2 separate regions of the Homo sapiens genome follow, and region 2 is linked to region 1. Evidence: promoter capture Hi-C in human tissues and cell types (Jung and others, 2019). All regions are on one chromosome and are shown on one strand. Each heading gives the region's core, a stretch centred on a gene start or on the middle of the fragment in contact. The rest is flanking DNA. Distances are from core to core; before and after follow the strand shown. Region 1 holds the start of KCNK13 (potassium two pore domain channel subfamily K member 13). Region 2 overlaps TDP1 (tyrosyl-DNA phosphodiesterase 1).

Region 1 (7,415 bases), core at 2,048-4,547:
AATGACCTTTGACTCTTACCTCATACCATAAGGAAACAAACTTAAATGGATCGTAGACCCAAATATAAAAGTGTGGGGAGACAGAAAACCTATGCAACCTTGAAGGAGGTAATGATTTCTCAAAGGGCACCAAACATACAGAAAACATATTTAAGAAAATAAATAGGCAAATCAGAGTTAGAAAATATTTGCAAGATATGTATCTGAGAAAGTACTCGTATCCTGCATATATAAAGGATCTCTATAATTCAGTAACAGAGAAACTAATTTTTTAAGTGGGCAAAATATTTCAACAGAAAATTCACAAGAGAAGGTACACAAGTGGCCAGCAAGCGCATTAGACATCAGGGAAATGCAAATTAAAACCACAGTGAGATATCGCTACATCCACCAGTATTTTTAGACATCAGGGAAATGCAAATTAAAACCACAGTGAGATATTGCTACATCCACCAGTAGTTTTAAAATTAAAATGACTGATACTGCCAAATGTTGACAAAGATACGGAGCATCCAGAACTAGTGTACACTGTCAGTACAGCTGCTTTGGGAAAATGTCGGGCAGTTTCTCATAAAGCAAAATACATACCTACCCTATGACCCAGCAATTCCGCTCCTAGGTCTTTACGTAAGAGATATGAAAACATATGTCTACATAGTTGTACAAGAATGTTCCTAACAGTTTTATTTATGATGACCAAAATTTTCTAACAGTTCTCCTTTCTATCAATAGGAGGAGAATGAATAAACAAACTATGGTATACCCAAACAATGAAAAACTAGCAATAAAGAGGAAGGAATTACTAAGACATATAACATGGGTAAATCTCAAAAACATAATGTTTTCCACCAAAGAGTACATACCGGCATGATTCCATTTATATGGAGATTTAGAACAAAAAAACAGTTCTATAAAAGCGAAAGTAATCGATGGTAGAAAAATTCTGAACAGTGGTTTTCTCTGGAGGAATGTGGGTAGGGAGTTACAGGGAAGGGACTTAGGGGGACCCTGTTGGTGATGTTTGGCTGGTAGGTTGGATAGGTGATTTGCAGAGGTGTACCCATTTGTCAGAACTCACCTAATGATACACTTAAGATTTGTGCATTTCATTGTATGTAAATTTTATCCGAAAAGGAAAAAAATTCTGCAAGTAAATATTGAACCCTACGTAGTGATATGCAGGCAGAAGTACTGGGGATGAGGGCGGAAGTGTACCAAGCTCTGCAACTTACTCTGAAATGCATCCAAACAAGATGGGTTGATGGATGGACAGAGGGACGGGTAGATATCTAATAAATCAAGTATAGTAACATGTTAATTGTAGAATCTAGGTGGTGGGTATACGGGTGTTCACTGTAAAATTCAACTTTTTAGAATGTTTGAAATTTTTCATAATAAAATGGATTTAAAAGGTAATTGCAGTACTCACCCTGGGTGTATACACATGCACCCATTCTCGCGATGCCCCTAAAGCTCTTGCCCCTCAGAAGGCTAGATGAAAGAGGGGCATTGGGGAGTGAGTAACAGAGCCGAGAGGACTGCTAACAGCACCAGGGTTTCTGATGAAAATGCACTCGCCAGAGCTGTGTTTCTTTATTCGAAATCACACGGTTTTACTCAACAGGGCTCCTAGCCCTTCTGTCTCTGCTCCTGGTGCGTAAGGGCGGTGTGTGGGGCTCTGCGCCTGAAACCGCTCTCTCGGAAGGTGGGAAGATGCCCACGTATCCATTCCTCTCCGCGTACAGATTCGCTCCCACACGCCCGGGCGGGTGATTCCGGAGGGCCGCGCGGGGCTGTGTGCGCGGGCGGGGGCGGGATGTGTCTGGAGGGGGCAGAGCGCCCTCTCCCGGCCCCGGAGGGCCCACGCGGACCGGCTGAGCGTCCCACCAGCCGGTTCTGCATCCACTACCCAGATCTGCGCGCCCTGGTGGGAGCACCGCAGCCCCGGGTCGGCCCTTCGAACGCCGAGCGTCTACCCGCGGAGACCAGCGCAGGAGGCGGGCCCGCGCGCAAGGAGGCGGGCGACAGGGTGGAGTCGCCGCAGCTGGCAGCCGCACGGCTCTACCTGTTGCAGCGTCGGAGCGCGCCCGCCTGAGAAGGCAGAGCGCGGTGCGGACCTGTGCTCCGCGCGCCGGCTGGCAGGGCAGGGCCGCGGCTGCCAGGAGGCCCGGGAACAGTCCCGACGGAGCGGCGCGGAGAGGGCGCTCCCCGGAAGGTGAGATCTGAGCGCGGCAGCGGCGCCAGCGCCCGCTACAAGGCGGGGTCTCGGGGAGGGGGCCCCGGCGGTTTGCTGGAGAGCCTTGCTACTGTTCTGCATGAGGTGGGGGATGCCTTCTGCGCGGACCCCGCGTCCAGGCAAAACTCTGGAACGCACTAGGCAGCCAAGCCCGGGGGGAAGAGATGGAACGCTCCAAGGTCAAGGTCTCCTGGCCGCGGAGCCCTTCCAGCCCCCAGTGTTTGGCCTCCTCTCCGGAAGCGGGGCTGGCTCGCGGTGCGCGCTTGGTCCGGGCGGAGCCTACTAGTAGGCGCAGAGGACGCCCCCGCGCAGGATCCAGAGACCAAGGGCGCTCTGGCATGGTCAAGGCGAGGGAGGCTGCCCGGGGGAGAAGCCCCTAACTTCCTTTGCTCCCTGTTCCAACCTCCCTTTCTGGTCTCCTCTCTCCAGCCCGTCCGCCCAACGGATGCGCAGCGTTGGGGCCCGGCCGGAGGTCGGAGCCCTCGGACGCCGCAGCCCTCGGACGCCGCTCAGCACAGCCCCTCTCTCCGTGCGCCCGCCCTGGACCCCCTCCATCCCTAAGCCCCGGCAGCCGATTCGGAGACTCGGGAGGCCACAGGCTCAGCGCGACACCACGACCACAACTAGGAGGCACCATCGTCGATCTACCTGGGGAGGCACCTACAAAGCCAGCAGACTGACACCCGTGTCCTAGCCGTCGGCGGCCTGCGAAGCGATAGTCAAAGGAACCAGGACCCAGGACCCCGGCGCTCTGCTTACCCGCAGACCTCCGGACCGCGCCCCCCCCCCGCCGCCCCGCCCCGCCCCGCCCCGCCCCGCGACCGTCTCTTTGCGGGAAACTCGAGTTGGCTCGAGCTTGCCCTGAAGACGCGCCACGCCCCCTCCCCTATCTGAGCCGGACAGGGAGCCGGGGTGGAAACTGCGCCCGCATCCCAGCGCCAAGCAGACGTGAACTCTGCGCCCGTTCCCCGGGACCTTCAGCGTTAAGGAGAACTCCGAGGAGAGCAGGGGGAGTGGAGGGGAACGGCGGCGACAAAGCGGATTTGAAACTAGGAGTCAAGGAGGACGTGGGGAGCTGGCGCCACAGGAGCTACCGAGGCGGCGGCCGGGGGAGCCTCGCGGCCTGCGGGAGAGCCCGGCGGTCATGGGCGAGCCGGCGGTGGGGCGCCCGGGAGCTGGCTGAGCGCCGGGGCCCTTATTTCCCGGGGGTGTGGGCGAGACTCCGCCGACGCCCGGTGCCGTGGGCCTGGGGGCTGCCCCCGGGGGCCCGGCCATGGCTGGCCGGGGTTTCAGCTGGGGCCCGGGCCACCTGAACGAGGACAACGCGCGCTTTCTGCTGCTGGCCGCGCTCATCGTGCTCTACCTGCTGGGCGGCGCCGCCGTCTTCTCCGCGCTGGAGCTGGCGCACGAGCGCCAGGCCAAGCAGCGCTGGGAGGAGCGCCTGGCCAACTTCAGCCGCGGCCACAACCTGAGCCGCGACGAGCTGCGCGGCTTCCTCCGCCACTACGAGGAGGCCACTCGGGCCGGCATCCGCGTGGACAACGTCCGCCCGCGCTGGGACTTCACCGGCGCCTTCTACTTCGTGGGCACCGTCGTTTCCACCATAGGTAAGTGTGCTGGCCGGACTCGCTGACAACCTCCGGGCGGCCTCCACTTCCTCCGGGGGGCAGGACCGACCCTCTCATCCTTTCATTCATCCATCTGGGCGCCCAGCCAGACTCCACTGACATGAGCTGTCGCCTGATCAACAGGTGGTATTGCCTCCCCGCTGCTCTAATGTGGTCCAGGCACCGGCAGCTTCAGCGTCACCTGGCAGCTTGTTAGAAATGCAGTCTCAGTCCCCTCTGCAGACCTGCCGAGTCAGAATCTGCATGTTAACAAAGTCCCCAAAGGATTGGAATGATCCTTAAATTGGAGACGCTCTGCTCTGGGAGATTTTCAGTCTAATGAAGGAGACACGGCTTGAGTTCATGGGGAAGAAGGCTTTTACAGATAGGGACAGGAAACTAAACATTTACTGAGTCAGTCAGAGGGGAAGTGCAGATTTTAAAAGATTCTGCCCTCGACTTCACACTTACCGAGAAAAAATCAGAACAGCAGACTGAAAGTGAGGAAGCAAAAGTGCCAATGACGGTTCAAAAGATGGAAAATTTTCCACCAGGAAGAACCAGGGAAGTGACCTTTGGGCTGAATCAATTCGTGTTAGGCATAACTTGGGTTTGGGAACTGAAAGCGCGGTTGCACTCTAGAGTAGGAGAGAATCGCACTCAGGGGCCCCATGAGCTGGTTGGAGTGGTGGAAGGAAGACTAGGAAGGTCTGCTGGCTAATGGGATGGAGGCGGGGGTAGGACCTTCACTGACAGACTGAGGAGCTGGAATTTACCTAGAGGCACCTGGGAGCCATTGAGAATTTTTTAGCAAAGATGTAGCACAGCTACAATCAGCTGTGTTTATTTCCCAGCAGAAGGAAAATGATTTGGGGGAGTCTGCGCCACACCCCTAAAGATTGTTCATCCTTGAAGAATAATCAAGTGATTAATGGGGGTTAGGGAAGATGCTGTAGAAATAAATTCTGAGGGGGGCAAAAAGAGACCTGGAGCAGGGGAGGGAGGTTGGAAGAGTTAGACGGAGAGGAAGTGGCCTCCAAGCTGCAAAAAAGGCTGGCAGTTGCAAACAGCCCAGGGTGCATGTGCTGAGCGCTCTGTAGCTACTGCCCCTGTGCACTCTAGAAGAGCTCGCTGGTGAGGTGGGGCGACAAGTTGAGCCTCCTTGAGGCTCCCACACATGGCTGTGCTACATAGACATTCTGCCAGGAGAAGCAGCACAAAAGACAAAAGAGATTGGCTTCAGGTCAGATTCATCATGAAAGACTTCCCAGGGCTAGTCCAGGAATCCAGGGCTTCAGCTGATGCACAGGAGGCGAGGCAGAGGACCAGTATGATTAGGGACACACCGGCTGTATCTGAAGTGCCTGGCTCCCAGCCCCCATCCCATCCCAGATGGTGCGGCCCATCAGCAGGCCATGATGGCACCACCATAACTGGGTATCAGGCAGGAAACCTTGCAGCAGACCAGAATGGGCCCAAGATTGGTGAAGGAGGAATAACACCCCCATGGTTCTCCCCCTGAGCCCACACTATCTGCTGGACTCTTAGCCGTGTTCCACAAGCCCCTCCTCACATCACCTCCCACGTCCCAGAAGACAGTTCCAGAATCTCCACATAGGCAAGACTTGGGATGAACAAACTGATTAGGAGGTGTCACTTTGGAAGTGACCTTGACTCTACTGTGTTTGCATAGCAAGTACAGGATTTTTTTAGATTGAATGGTAACTTAGGGTGGTTTTGATGGGAGATTTGATGGCTGAATCTTTCCCACCACCATGAAAAACCATCTCTTGGTGCTCCCAGTGGGCACAGAGGCAGGAAGGAGCAGAGTGTGTGTGTGGACAGGTGCATCCATGTAGCAGGAACTGAGAGTGGCATGGGTAGGTGGCCATATAGGAACATGGGCTTTGGGGATACGAATATGACAATGTGGCATGGAGGAGTGGAAAGAAACCTGGACAAAGAGTCTGGAGTGGGAGCTTTTCATCCTGCCTCTGTATCTTGGGCAAGCCTCTTAACTATTCCGAGCCCCATCCTTTTCTCATCTGAGGCATCTACAGAGTGCCCACCTTGGTATCTGGCACATCAGCTATTTGGTGAATATTAGTCCTGCCCCCTGCTCCCTCCGTCTGCGTAAGCCTGCCCCTGTCACAGGGTTCTTGTGAGGGACAATGAGCTCTTGTAAGTGCGTGCGTGTTAAAAGGTAAAAAACATGATGTCAGTGTGGGCTGATTTTTATTTCTCATTTGTAACATTTCCTTTTAAATTGTTTCACTAATTGTTGTAATAACAGCACTGGCTAACCTTTATCAGGCCCGTATTAGGCACATACTGTATGATTATTATGTGAATGTGCAATGCAGCTCATTGCTGTGTGACATTCACACTTCATTTCAGCCAACACAACTCCATGAGGTAGGCATAACACTCCCCCGTTATAGATGAAAAAGCTGAAGGTTCAGGTTTTTTGTAAAATAAAGTATAAAGAAGAAAAAAATCAAGTTATATGCAGTAATATCATCCAAATTAACCACTGTTCATGTTTTGGTCCATTTTCTTCTGGTCTCCTTTTTCCTCTGCGTATACTTATATACATATGCATTTTTAAAAATTAGAATTATATTCTATAAACCACTCATATCTTGCATTTTTATTGTAACATTACATGATGGTGTTTTTCCTCTAAAAATTAATTCCACCATGCTTTATTCTGCAAAGACTTTGAGGTAGCAGACAAAGTATACAGGAAAATAATCATAAAATACAAATAAAACTTCAGAACCAGGGAAAAGAAGAACAGAAATACGGGATGCAAGTGGAGCTACGAAGTTGCTAGAGAGGAACTTTGTCTTAGTTTGGGTTCCCTTAGAAGCAGAGCTTGAGCCAAGAATTTGAGTGTAAGCAGTTTGTTGGGAGGAGCAAGGGATACAGGTCGGTGCAAGGGAAAGTGAATCGAGGAAGGAAAGTAAGTTAATCCAGGATACGCTATTAAGGCAGGTGCCACAGTGGGCAACTGGTACCTAATCCCAAATGGAAGCTTGGAAGCAAAGCAAAGCTCTTGACCCAGATATCCCATGCAAGAAAGCTGGGATGTTTACACAACCACACCTGTCAGGAATTGGTTAAAAAGCTGTCTGGGGAGGATGAGAAAGGAGCACGGGGATGTAATTTCCAGGTACTTCTGGCCTTATTTTCTTTCATGGACAGCCCAAGGGTAGCCCTCACGCAGAGATAGGCTCTGCTGTTGGAAATGAGGCCAGTGTGCCAGGAAATGATAACACGATCCCAAGGAATGGTGGGGAATCCCATGGAAGGCAGAGAACCAGCAAGCTTCAGATTTGGTTTCAGGCTTCATGGCAGACAGAGTCATGACCCATACTAGAATTCTTAATATCAGAAACGAGGAAACATAAACCTTTCCAGTACCTAATTCTCCTTTTTTGAGACAGAGTCTTGCCCTGTCACCTAGGCTTGAGTGCAGTGGCACAATCTTGGCTCACTGCAACCCCTGCCTCCCGGGTTCAAGCAGTTCTCCTGCCTCAGCTTCCCAAGTAGCTGGGATTACAGGTGTG
Region 2 (7,415 bases), core at 3,640-6,139, 52 kb before region 1:
GGATTTTATGCTGTGTTCCTTGGAGCCCTGTGGGCTCTGGAAACCCCTTTCAGAAGCCACCACAACAGTGGGCAGAGAGAGATGAGTGCAAGTAATTCACCCAGAGATACTCGCCCTTGTTTGCTTAAAATGTTTCCTTTGAACAAAGGGTTCTCGAGGTTTAAAAAAAAAATTTTTTTAAATCATTATAATAGATCATCTCCCAAGGCCCATTCTAACAACCATATCATAGTTCTGTTAAAAGCATTAACCATTTCCAAACCTCACCTTTGTGAGGTGCATTAAAATTTACTAAGCACTTGCACCTAGATTATTTCATTCATTCCTCATTATAGCCCAGTGTAATGAGCAGATGGTGTTAAGTCCTTATTATAAGTGAAGAAATTGGTGACCTAAGTACTAACCACAAGGTAACAGAGCTAGCCAAAAGCAAACTCATATCTTACAAGTCTGTTGCTCTTTTCAAGTCCTTGTATTTATTGCCTTTCCACTATAGGAGATAGACTAAAACATTGGAACATTTCATTAGAAAATAAAACAGTAAGCAGTTTTTGGTTGTCACATGGGTTACTATTAAATATATACTCAAATTATTTGGTATAGTATTCTAAATACCAATTTTGACCTGAAATTTGAAAAGCACTTTTTTTATCCTTGGCAGTAATTTTTGTCATTTTGGATTATTGATGTGATGACTTCTAAAGTCCTTGTAATTCCATCTGTGGGATCAAGAATAGATGGATCCTTTTAAAGACTAGGTCAACAGGTAGGCTGGACTATGCCATCGGGCACCAAGGCCTCCATTTAGAGTCCAACATGGCTATGAAAGACTGCTTGTCGGGGGAGGGTCATGATAGGCCTGTGACTGAGGAACAAAGTGAGGTTGCAAGTAGATTTGTCCAAATCTATTTGGTGGTTTGTCAGACTTTACACTTGCAAAACCCCACACCCAAGTGTCTAATCTTCTTTAGTGTTTTGCTCTTATCTGCTTGAAAACATGCATCATAATCATTTTCATTTTTCTTTTCTTGCTGGCTTTTCTTTGTTAATACACTGTATCTGTAAGACCTGATAGCCACCCTGGAAACACAGCTGATGTGTTGCATCCTCTTAGTAGTTAATCTCCCAAGATTCTTCAACATCTGCAGAATTTTGAGATAGGATTTCACGCTGTCACTCAGGCTGGAGTGCAATGGCATGCTCACTGCTCACTGCATCCTTGACCTCCCAGGCTCAGGTGATCCTCCCTTCTCAGCCTCCCCAAGTAGCTGGGACTACAGGTGTATGCCACCATGCCTAGCTAATTTTTTTTGAGACAGAGTCTTGCTCTGTCACCCAGGCTGGAGTCCAATGGCATGATCTCAGCTCACTGCAACCTCCACCTCCTGGGTTCAAGCGATTCTCCTGCCTCAGCCTCCCAAGTAGCTGGGATTACAGGTGCCCGCGACCAAGCCTGGCTAATTTTTTTGTGTTTTTAGTAGAGATGGGGTTTCACCATGTTGGCCAGGCTGGTCTCGAACTCCTGACCTCAGGTGATCCGCCCACCTCAGCCTCCCAAAGTGCTGGGATTACAGGCGTGAGGCACCATGCCCAGCCCATGCCTGGCTAATTTTTGTATTTTTCATAGAGATGGAGTTTTGAAATGTTGCTCAGGTTGCTGTTGAACTCCTGAGCTCAAAACTCTCTATCTGCCTTGGCCTCCCAAAGTGCTGGGATTACAGGTGTGAGCCACCATGACCAGCTCCTCTTCCTCTTTATTATTCACCAATATTTTCATTCCACCCTTTTTTGGCTTTCAAAATTAGTCATTGTCATTATTACTTTACAGTCACTTCTTGTTTACAGTTACCCATAAGTTTACTCATTTCTTTGTTCTTTTTCTTCCCGGTAGCCCTGTCCTTTCAAACAAATTCAGTTTTATTCCTGAACTGTATCTTTTATAGTTATTTCACTGATGCCTTCTTACTGGCAATAAGCTCTTATTTGTTTTTCTAAAACTCCCTTTATTTTTGCCCTCATTTTTGAGTGATAATTTAACTGAATTTAAAATTCTTTGGCCGGACGCGGTGGCTCACACTGCCCATACCTGTAATCCCAGCACTTTAGGAAGCCAAGGCCGGTGGATCAGTTGAGACCAGGAGTTCAAGACCAGCCTGGGCAACATGGTGAAACCCTGTCTCTACTAAAAATATAAAAATTAGCTGGGCATGGTAGCTCACACCTGTAATCCCAGCTACTCAGGTGGCTGAGGCATGAAAATCGCTTGAACCCAGGAAGCAGAGGTGGCAGTGAGCTGAGATCGCTCCACTGCACTCCAACCTGGGTAATAGAGCAAGACCCTGTCTCGGGGCGGGAAACTGGGACAAAGTAACTGCCAACTAAGATTTTTTTTTTTCCTTTTAAGGCAGAGTTTTGCTCTGCCACCCAGGCTTGGTTCACTGTAACCTCCACTTCTCGGGCTCAAGTCATCCTTCCACCTCAGCCTCCCAAGTAGCTGGGACAGGTATGCACCACCACACCTGGCTAATTTTTTATTTTTTTTTAGAGATGGGGTCTCACTATGTTGCTGTTCTCACACTCCTGAGTTCAAGCAATCCTTCCACCTCAGCCTCCCAAAATACTGGGATTACAGGCGTGAACCACCATGCCTGGTCTTCCTCTAAGTTCCTTAAATATTTTTTTCCATTGGCTTTTGAGCTCAGTTGTTGGTATTGAGAAGTTGCCATCTAATTGTTGCTCCTTGTGGAAAAGCTGTCTCATCTCTGGCTGTTTTTAAGATTTTCTTTATATTTGGTATTCTTCAGTTTAGCTACGATGGATAAATAGGTATGGATTTATTTTTATTTAGTCTCAGCAGGGTTTGTTGTATTTCTTCACTCTAAAGAACTGATTTTTCAACAGTTCGGTAAAATTATTGGCTATTATCATTAAGCATATTGACTCACCCTCTCTCACTTCCTTCTTGCAACTCTTATGAGATGCTTGTCGGACCCTCTCATTCTATCTTCAGTTTCTTACTTTGCACCTCTTTGCCTCTGAGTTGCATTCTACCTAATTTCTTTAGATCTTTCTTCTGTTTCATTAGTTTTGTTTTCAGCTGTGACTCATGGTATTTAATTCATCAGTAGAGTTTTTAATTCTAGTGACTGTATTTTACTTTTGGACCTTCTTGGATACCATATGTTTCATGGTTTAGAGTTCAGCCCAGAGTCACGCTGCCTGAGTTCGAATTCTTACTCTACCACCTAGTACCTGTTGAAATCTTGGGCAAATGACTTCCATTTTCTCATCTGTTAAGTAAGTATAGTAATAGAATAGGTATCTAATAGTTAAGAATGAAAATAAATAGAATATATAAAGGTATTAAAACAACATTTGGCAGTTAATAGATGCTGCATATTAGCTGCCATTATTAGCAAATTTGTTTTATGCTTGTTTCATTATTTCTTTTGTATGTTGTTTACTTTGAAATCTTTTGTTTATTTTTGTTTTGTTTTTTGAGATGGTGTCTTGCTGTGTCACCCAGGCTGGAGTGCAGTGGCACGTGATCATAGCTCCTGGGCTCAAGCAATTCTCCCATCTCAGTCTCACAAGTAGCTGGGACTGCAGGTGCACACCACCCTGCCTGGCTAATTTTTGCATTTTATTTTGATATGGGATCTTGCTTTGTTGCCCTGGCTGGTCTCAAGCCTCTGGCCTCAAGTGATCCTTCTGTCTTGGCTTCCCAAAGCACTAGGATTACAGGCATGAGCTACCATGTCCAGCTCAAATCATTTTAAGTATACTTATTTTTAACTCGACATCTAATTGGTCAATCATCTGAAGTTCCTGGAGGTCTAATTATATTTTCTGTTGTCTTGCTCATGATGGATTTGGATTATTTTCCCTTTTATTTTAAAATTTGTGTCTTCACTGAAGCTTTAACTATAAAAATTATCTGTGACTTGAGTGGACAAACCTCTGTACCTCCAGATAGATTTTGTTGCTGCTGGTCTCTTCAAGAACCTGGAACCAATGTCTATGTTAATATCTTGACATAAGGTAGGGGCAGATACCTAGCATTCCAATATTTGAGAGATCAGGTGGAAGAAAAGGAGTGACCAGAGAGGTTGAAAGCAGAAAGGAAGCCACAAAGTGTAGCAGAAAACAAGGAAGAATAATTACAGTAATGTTTCAATTATGCCAGGGGATAAGAGGCACTGATGGTAGAAGTCTCATGCTACAGAGAGATTAAGATGAGAGTAAAGAAGTTTCCATTGGATATGGCAGTGTGGAGTGACTTTAAGTGGTTTCAGGATAGTGGTTTGGGGAAAAGTCTTATTGAAAGCACATAATAGATTGAAGGGTAAGTGTGGTTCTCTGCAGTATTGTACTGGAAGTTATAGCCAGTGCAATAAGGCAAAAAAATAAAAGACATAAAGATTATTAAGGAAGAAGTAAAACTATATTTGCAGAAGATATGACTGTGCATTTGTAAAACCCCAAGGAGTTTAAACATGATTTCAAGATTCACTATAAAAGCAGGGTAAGACTGTGATATCAGCATAACAATAGATAAATTGATGAACAGAACAGAACAGAGTCCAGAAATAGACACATATATCATCAACCATTTTTGACAAAGGCACCAATGTAATTCAGTGGATGAAGGATGTTCTTTTCAATAAATATTGCTAAAGCAATTGGATATTGATGCAGGAAAAAAAAACCTTAGCCTATCTTAGGACATAGACAAAATTAACTTCAGATGTATCATATGCCTAAGTGAGAACGCTAAAGCTATAAAGCCTAGAACAAGAATACCCTACAACCTTGAAGTAGGCAAGATTTAGTACATAAGACATAAAATGCACTTGCAAGAAAAGATTTACACATGTTTGGACTTCAGAATATTTTAAAACTTTATTTTGTCAAAAGACACCATTTTGGGATGGATGAAAAGGTTTTTCTGAGTAAGACCTCACACCCAGAAGCTATAAAGTCAAAAACTGCACCTTGGATAACTTCCTTCCTCGCCCCAAAATGGAAGAAAACAAGCAAAAATTACCTTCTGAACTATAAAGGTTTTCATAAACAAAGTTATAACTGGGCAAACATTTGCAACATAATTGTAATATATGAAAAGCACTGTGTGGTGGGCAGAATAATGGCCACCCAAAGATGTCTTTGTGTAAAATCCTCAGGGGCTGTGACTGTTAAATTATCTGGCAAAGGGGAATTAAGGCAGCAGGTGGGATTAGGTTTGCTAATCAACTGACCTTAAAATGGGGTGGTTATTGGGGGAGGGCCCAGTATAATCACAAAGATACTTAAAAGTGGAAGAGGGACAAGTCGAGAGAGAGAGCACTGCATGAAAAAGGACTCAGCTAACCTCACTGGCCTTGAAGATGAAGGAACAGAGACATTCCAAGGGGAATGCAGACAGCCTCTAGAACTAGAAAAGGCAAGGAAATGAATTCTTCCTGAGGGCCTCTGGAAGAAACACAATCCTCCTAAAACTTTAATTTTACTTTACTTTGTGTAAGATAATGAATCTTTGTTTTAAGTCATTAAATTTGTGGCATTTTGTTAGAGCAGCAGCAGGAAACTAATGGGCACTGCATATCAAGAGAAAAAAACAGTATCATAGTTTAAAAATTGATACTTCACGGAGGTAAACATCAGCGTTCAGTAGTGATATGGGCTGGCTGTATCCCCACCCAAATCTCATCTTGAATTGTAGCACCCATAATCCCCACATGTTGTGGAAGGGACCTGGTGGGAGGTAATTCAGTCATGGGGGTGGGTTTTCCTGTGCTGTTCTCATGATAGTGAATATGTCTCATGAGATCTGATGGTTTTTATAAAGAGCAGTTTCTCTGCACACACACTCCTGCCTGCCACCATGTAAGGCATGCCTTTGCTCCTCCTTCGCCTGCTGCCATGATTGTGAAGCATCCCCAGCCATGTGGAACTGTGAGTCCATTAAACCTCCTTTCCTTTATAAATTACCCAGTCTTGGGTATGTCTTTATTAGCAGTGAGAGAACAGACTGTTATAGTAAATTGCTACCGGTAGAGTGGGGTGCTGTTATAAGGATACCCAAAAATGTGGAAGTGACTTTGGAACTGGGTAACAGGCAGAGGTTGGAACAGTTTGGAGGGCTCAGAAGAAGACAGGAAAATGTGGGAAAGTGGGAACTTCCTAGAGACTTGGAGGGCTCAGAAGACAGGAAGATGTGGGAAAGTTTGGAACTTCCTAAAAACTTGTTGAATGGCTTTGACCAAAATGCTGACAGTGATATGGACAATGAAGTCTAGGCTAACATGTTCCCAGATGGAGATGAGAAACTTGTTGGGAACTGGGGCATAGGGGACTCTTCCTATGTTTTATCAAGGAGACTGGTGGCATTTTGCCCCTGCCATAGAGATCTGTGGAACTTTAAACTTGAGAAAGATAATATAGGGTATCTGGCAGAAGAAATTTCTAAGCAGCAAAGTGTTTGAGGTGATTTTGGGTGCTCTTAAAGGCATACAGTTTTATTCATTCATAGAGATACTCTTTGGAGTTGGAACTTATGTTTAAAAGGGAAGCAGAGCATAAAAGTTGGAAAATCTGCAACCTGACAATGCAATAGAAAAGAAAAACCCATGTTCTGAGGACTACAGAAATTTGCATAAGTAATGAGGAGCCAAATGTTAATTGCCAAGACAATGGGGAAAATGTCTGCAGGGCATGTCAGAAGTCTTCACGGCAGACCCTCCCATCACATGCCTGGAAGCCTAGGAGGAAATGGCTTTGTGGGCCAGGCCCAGGCCCTTGCCGCTTTGTGCAGTCTTGGGACTTGGTGCCCTGCATCCCAGGCATGGCTAAAAGGTGCCAACATACAGCTCAGGCCATTGCTTCAGAGGGTGCAAGCCCCAAGCCTTGGTGGCTTACACATTGTGTTGGGCCTGTAGGTACACATAAGTTAAGAATTGAGGTTTGGGAACCTCTACTTACATTTCAAAGGATGTATGGAAAAGCCTGGATGTCCAGGCAAAAGTTTGCTGCAGGGATGGAGCCTCATGTCATTAAGTGTTTATGGCTTTTCCAGGCACATGGTGCAAGCTGTCAGTGAATCTACAATTCTGCAATCTTGAAGGATTCTGGCCCTTCTCACAGCTCCAGTAGGCAGTGCCCTAGTGGGGACTCTGTGTGGGGCCTCCGACCCCATAATTCCCTTCCACACTGCCATAGCAAAGGTTCTCCATGAGGGCCTCGTCCCTGGAGCAAACTTTTGCCTGGACATCCAGGCGTTTCTATACATCCTCTGAAATGTAGGTAGAGTTTCCCAAACCTCAATTCTTAACTTCTGTGTACCCGCAAGGCCATTGCTTCAGAGGTGTGCTGCAGGGGTGGAGCCCTCATGGAGAACCTCTGCTAGGGCAGTGCAG

What was found. The method cuts DNA at HindIII sites, captures the fragments that hold promoters and counts their contacts. A contact is called where the count stands out against the background at its distance.
Region 2: a fragment that was not itself captured here is called in contact with the fragment with the promoter of KCNK13 in region 1 in 1 of the 25 tissues and cell types used here (aorta).

Annotation. Positions count from the first base shown.
Region 1 is chr14:90,058,697-90,066,111 of GRCh38, forward strand. KCNK13 (potassium two pore domain channel subfamily K member 13) reads left to right here and starts at 3,298. Exons shown (of 2, transcript NM_022054.4): 1 at 3,298-3,843. The coding sequence starts at 3,510. It overlaps LOC124903406, which reads left to right. Exons shown (of 3, transcript XM_047432048.1): 2 at 1,706-2,215; 3 at 2,666-3,037. The coding sequence ends at 2,930. RefSeq lists a silencer at 1,601-1,990 and enhancers at 2,239-2,740, 2,741-3,240. The HindIII fragment of the contact is 23,188 bases long and covers 1-7,415 here.
Region 2 is chr14:90,005,243-90,012,657 of GRCh38, forward strand. The region is part of intron 14 of TDP1 (tyrosyl-DNA phosphodiesterase 1); the gene reads left to right. Among named protein-coding and RNA genes, the nearest start is that of TDP1, 53 kb to the left of the region's middle. RefSeq lists a silencer at 1,422-1,589. The HindIII fragment of the contact is 6,858 bases long and covers 1,461-7,415 here.